2 separate regions of the Homo sapiens genome follow, and region 1 is linked to region 2. Evidence: promoter capture Hi-C in human tissues and cell types (Jung and others, 2019). All regions are on one chromosome and are shown on one strand. The core of a region is centred on a gene start or on the middle of the fragment in contact, and the rest is flanking DNA. Distances in the headings are between cores, read along the strand shown.

Region 1 (3,102 bases), core at 471-2,970, 79 kb before region 2:
GGGTTGCATGACCTTTGGTGAGGTAATTTCTTTTAATCAAGGCCAATTCTCAGAGAGGGAGACATCTAGGAGTCATCAGTAGCCATTACTCCTGGCAGTTGGAGAATAAGTATCTCAGTCTCAAAGAGGGCATCTGGGCAGGGCACCATATCATCCACTATAATCCTTTGATTGTTGAATGAATGCAAATGTTTTGTAAGCAATGGTAAGGGTCTTAGACTTGATCTTGAAAGCAATGGGATCTCAACACTGGATATTAAGCCCAAGAATGACACAGTCTGATTTGCATATCCAAAAGATCACACTGGCTGCCATGACAATGGATCCAAGAAGGATGTATCTGTGGAGATCCAGTCAAGAAATCAGAAACCACGCCAGTAAGTTTAACAGTGAGAATTTAATATAAGCAGTTGGTTGTACAAGTATTAGATCAAAAAAGAGGCAATAATGATAATTTGAGGGGTCTTCAACAACTTTATGAAAAATGCATATTATGAAAAAACTGTGCCTGGATTTCAAAATATTTTTGCACCAGAAAAATCCATACTCATTTGTTATGTCTGAACAGCATCTAGTTTGAGGCATTAAGAAGGATAAGACATCAGTTTAAAAAAATTCCTTATCAGAGCAACATGAATTCTGCTAAAATTGAAGCAAGAGCAAACATTAAATGTAAGGTGAAGCTTGGGTGGAAAAATGGTGAAATCACGAATGCTTCATAAAAAGTTTATGGGGACAATACACCAAAGATATCAGCCGTTTGAAATGGATAACTTAAAAAATATCCTCCAGATATGAAGGAGGATAACTTTTTTTTTTTTTTTTTTTTTTGAGACAGAGTTTTGCTCTTGTTGCCCAGGCTGGAGTGCAGTGGGGTGATCTCGGCTCACTGCAACCTCCACCTCCCAGGTTCAAGCGATTCTCCTGTCTCAGCCTCCCGAAGAGCTGGGATTACAGGCATGCACCACCACGCCCAGTTAATTTTGTATTTTTTTAGTAGAGATGGGGTTTCTCCATGTTGGTCAGGCTAGTCATGAACTCCCAACCTCAGGTGATCAGCTCGCCTCGGTCTCCAAAAGTGCTGGGATTACAGGCATGAGCCACCTCTCCTGGCCGAGGATAACTTTTTTTTTTTTTGAGACGGAGTCTCACACTGTTGCCTGGGCTGGAGTGCAATGGTGTGATCTCAGGTTACTGCAACCTTTGCCTCCCGGATTCAAGCGATTCTCCTCCCTCAGCCTCCCGAGTAGCTGGGATTACAGGCGCCTGCCACCACGCCCGGCTAATTATTTTATTTTTAGTAGAGATCTGGTTTCACTATGTTGGCAAGGCTGGTCTTGAACTCCTGACCTCATGATCCACCCTCCTCGGCCTCCCAAAGTGCTGGGATTACAGGAGTAAGCCACCATGCCCGGCCGATAACTTTTCTTAAGAAGGGATGAGATGATGTTGAAGATGAAGTCCCTCCCAGCAGACCAGCGACATCCATTTACAAGGAAAAAATTAATCTTGTTTGTGCCCTAATGGAAGAGGACTGATGATTAACAGCAGGAACAATAGCTAACACCATGGACATCTCAATTTGTTCAGCTTACACAATTCTGACTGAAATATTAAAGCTGAGTAAACTTCCCATTCAATGGTTGCCAAAACTAATGCACCCAGATCAGCTGCAGTCAAGAACAGAGCTTTCAATGAAAATTTTAAACAAGTGGGATCAAGATCCTGAAGCATTTCTTTGAAGAATTCTAACAGGAGATGAAACGTGGCCCTACCAGTAAGATACTGAAGACAAAGCACAATCAAAGCAATGGCTACCAAGAGGTGGAAGTGGTCCCATCAGGACAAAAGTGGACTGGTCAAGAGCAAAGGTCATGGCAAGAGTTTTTTGGGAGGCTCAAGGCATTTTGCTTGTTGGCTTTCCGGAGGGCCAAACAACAATTACATCTGCTTATTATGAGAGTGTTTTGAGGAAGTTAGCCAAAGCTTTAGCAGAAAAACACCTGGGAAAGCGTCACCGGAATCCTTCTCCACCATGTCAATCTCTTGCTCATTCCTCTCATCAAACAGAGGCAATTTTTTTGAGAGTTTTGATGGGAAATCATTAGGCATCCTACTTACAGTCCTGATTTGGCTCCTTCTGACTTCTTTTGGTTTCCTAATCTTAAAAAATCTTTAAAGGACACCCATTTTTCTTCAATTAGTAATGTAAAAAAGACTGTACTGACATGGTTAAATTCCCAGGACCCTCAGTTACTTAGGAATGGGCTAAGTAGCTGGTGTCTTGGCTTTGAAAAGTGTCTTGAACTTGATGAAGCTTTTGTTAAGAAAGAAAGTTTATATTTTTTATTTTGATCTTTTAATTACATTTTCCATGAACTATTTGAAGGTCCCTCCTAACAGCATAGTAACTTTGGGAGACAACTACCACTACTAAGGTTGAGGGAACACAGGAAAGAGGTTGGGGTTATAAGAACTTAGAAGCTTGGTGGCCTCGTGGAGCTGGGACTCTAACCCTGAGAACAGACACTCACCATCAAGTTAGTGTTGGTATCTTAAGAGTTCAGAGGAGCCCTGCAGAAGTGGACCTAGATCTCTGAAGACAGGGCATTCCCAGCTAGTGCTAGTACCTCTGAGCTAGTGTAATGAGCCCAGTTCTGGGATGGTGGGGAAAAAATCTGGAAACTGGAACCAATGGTTACTGAAACCCTCACTCCTGGTGGTCCCCTCATCATATGGTCATGCTGGCAGGAGCAGCAAGCAAGCAGCGAGGAGTAAGGCTCTTCCCATCTTCTTCCTTCACGGCTCCCTTTGGAGCCCCCTACTAGTACAACGGCAAAGCAGAAATGCAGTTTGCAGAGCCCTAGCCCTAGCAAACAAATTAGACATAGAAAGTGAGAAACAATAGATTAATAGGGAACCCAAAGACTGAGGATGTAAGTGGAGAGACAAGTTTAGAAAGTTTATTGCAGTAACTTGGGGAAGGTGATTGCTGTAGAGATAAGAGAGGGGAACAGATTCATGACACATTTGAAGTTTAATAGGGCTTTGTGCAGGAGATCACGGGAGGGTGGAGACCAGGGAACAAACTAACTGTATGAT
Region 2 (3,078 bases), core at 220-2,719:
TTTAATTACTGACTTGTTACAGAGCACATAAAGGGGGTAATGAATGCAATAAAACTAATTATCTACACATTTAATTCATATAAAATATCCAGGGTTTGTTTACACCACACGGCGATTCAGCTAAGCTTTCCCCCTCTTGTCCACCGAGAGGAAGGATTTAATGAAATAGTTTCCCTTATTCTGCTAGGGCCTAACAAACCAAATGAAAATTACCCTCCGCTTAAATCATGGGGCCACTGAAGTCCACAAATCACTGCTCGCTCCTTTGTCTGTGCCTCGCTGCCAGCACCCAAAAGCCTGAGGAATCGGACAAGAAAGGTGCCCGACCTGGAGCCCTTGCCTGGGCATTTACATGGCAAGAATTTCCCTCACTACAGTCCGCAAACCTAAAAGGCAAACAGACACAATCCCCGGGTCTGTGGAGGATTGTGGGCACCTGAAAAAAAAAAAGAGGCGAGAAAGAGGGAGAGCGCCCGAAAGAGATGAAAGAGGAGATACATTTGGGTACACTTCATGCTCGCTTGCCAGTTATGGTGTAATTAAAACGAACAACCTCACAGAAACTCAAACCAACCAAGGCTTGCGCTAATGCAAACAGACAGAACTGAGAGCAAAGAACACAACGGTCGAGAATCCAGATGTTTCACATTCGAAAGCTTTCCTCAGATTTTTTTATTATTATTTTTAAGTGGCTGTATACCCTGAGTCTCTTGAAAGCACATTTAGCTGCAAGAAGAAATGCAATTTATAAGATGCTTTCTCTCTGTCTCTCTTTTTTTTAACCCCCTCTACCAGGTGTATTTTTAAAGAAATCCGCTTATCGTTCACATAAACCCCCTTGGCCCACTTACTCTATGTTACAGGGCGCCTGAGTCTTGCCAATGTCCCAGTCCTTTATAACATTTCATGCACTTCGGGGGGTAGGCTTGTTGTTAAATTGAGCGTGTAACACTCTTACAAAACAGGTTTTCTATGACATCAAGGTTTCTTCTCCCTAACCGAGGGGGAAAAAAAGAAGAGGACGAAGAAGGGGGAAAACACACACACTATCTCAATTTATGCCTAAGGTATATGATCAGTTAAAAAGGCTTAAAAGCTCGGGGAAATTGGATCAGGGAGAATCGTCACCCAACTTTCATTATTTCCAAGTAGTGTGATTGAATTAAAGGGCAGGGAGCTGGTTAGAAGGGAGGATCAGGGGCTCGGTGCGTAATGGTGTGGTATTAAATTCTAATTAGAGATGCAGGAATCAATGATAGGGAGGTTGGACAGCTCAGTTCCCCAGTGCCAGCCCAATAGACGGATGAGTTATTGTCATGTAAAAAGCGCCAGCAATAAGACCAACCGCTTTGCTATTGTCCAAGTGGAAAGAGCCAAGTTTATTATGAGGACTATATGCTCTAGAGACCTCAGACAAGGCATCTCATAGGAGGCTTTTTCATAAAACTAGGCTCTGCTGGTAGTAAGGAGGCCAGTTTGGAGGCAGGCGTTGAGCTGTGCACATCTCCCCACTCCAGCCACCTTCTCCATATCCATCTTTTATTTCATTTTTCCACTTGGCTGAGCCATCCAGAACCTTTTCAATGTATAAAATGGAATATTCTTACCTCAATTCCTCTGCCTACGAGTCCTGTATGGCTGGGATGGACACCTCGAGCCTGGCTTCAGCCTATGCTGACTTCAGTTCCTGCAGCCAGGCCAGTGGCTTCCAGTATAACCCGATAAGGACCACTTTTGGGGCCACGTCCGGCTGCCCTTCCCTCACGCCGGGATCCTGCAGCCTGGGCACCCTCAGGGACCACCAGAGCAGTCCGTACGCCGCAGGTAAGGACCTTCAGCTTTCTCAGCGGAGGAAGCCGCCTTTCCGCCCGTATATAGGAAGCCTTGATTGCATTTGAAAATGGAAATGTGTTTAGTATTTACCAAACGAAATTTGCTTACACAAATGAAAGAATTTATCACGTTAGAAGCGATTGCAGGGAGGGGTAATTCACTTACAGGGTTACACTATCCTAGTCACACCCGAACCGCCAACAAAATTATCTTAAGCTGCCAAAATGATAGGCATAATTTATTTACTTTGCGATGAGACGTAAAGCTTAGAAAATAATTAAATAACAAAGAGTAAAGCTCATTACTGGCAGTGTCTCTTTTTTTAAGAACCGACAGCGGCTCACACCTCTTTGGCTGGTCATTTTTATGATTATTTCTTTAATTTATTATTATTTTTTTGCAGCTCTTTCCCCCAACTTTTGAGCCGGGTCAACTTTCTGAGAATTGAAAAGTTCCCAAAGTGGGACTGTTTGGTAACTTCTTTCCTGGCTCCCTGATATTCCGACTGATGTTTTTGGATTTTTTTCCTCTCTGGTTTTTTCCTGCTGAAAGCACTATCTCAAGTCCGTCACATCGCGCTGTTTCAATCCACCCAAAGGCGCTTGTGCCAGAAAGGACTCCGCCAAGCCCGAAGTTTGAGCCCAGGTTTCCGCAGATAACAAATTTCCTCGGTTTCTTCCCGCAGCTTCTCTCGGCAACTCTCTCGCGCGGGTGTAGGTAGCGGCTGCCGTATGACCTGACCTTGGAGTCCTCACATTCTAGCTCCACGGCCGGCGAGCTGCCGGCTGATTTGCTCACTTTCTGTCTCCTCTGTCATACTCTAGTTCCTTACAAACTCTTCACGGACCACGGCGGCCTCAACGAGAAGCGCAAGCAGCGGCGCATCCGCACCACTTTCACCAGTGCCCAGCTCAAAGAGCTGGAAAGGGTCTTCGCGGAGACTCACTACCCCGACATCTACACTCGGGAGGAGCTGGCCCTGAAGATCGACCTCACAGAGGCGCGAGTCCAGGTACGCGCGCCTGGAAACCGACCCCGCTCCGCCGCACTGGTCCGGGGAGGTGTGGGGTGAGGGGCGGCTGGTGAAATTCGAAGTCCTGGAGCCTCGAGTGAGAAGGACCTAGGGCCCCATGGCCGATCAGAAATACTGGATTTGGTGTGGCTGTGCGTTCGAGAGAGGCTTAGAGCGCACGCTCTTGGCATTTTATTTACAGTTGCGAAGTGTTTCCCACCCGAGCAGAGACA

Evidence for each region. The method cuts DNA at HindIII sites, captures the fragments that hold promoters and counts their contacts. A contact is called where the count stands out against the background at its distance.
Region 1: a fragment that was not itself captured here is called in contact with the fragment with the promoter of PHOX2B in region 2 in 4 of the 25 tissues and cell types used here (H1 embryonic stem cells, heart left ventricle, mesenchymal stem cells and 1 more).

The regions. Positions count from the first base shown.
Region 1 is chr4:41,826,235-41,829,336 of GRCh38, reverse strand. No RefSeq gene overlaps it. Among named protein-coding and RNA genes, the nearest start is that of LINC00682, 55 kb to the left of the region's middle. The HindIII fragment of the contact is 4,364 bases long and covers 1-3,102 here.
Region 2 is chr4:41,747,116-41,750,193 of GRCh38, reverse strand. It overlaps PHOX2B (paired like homeobox 2B), which reads left to right and starts at 1,469. Exons shown (of 3, transcript NM_003924.4): 1 at 1,469-1,824; 2 at 2,658-2,845. The coding sequence starts at 1,584. PHOX2B-AS1 (PHOX2B antisense RNA 1) reads right to left here and starts at 1,845. Exons shown (of 4, transcript NR_187403.1): 1 at 1,608-1,845. The HindIII fragment of the contact is 4,691 bases long and covers 392-3,078 here.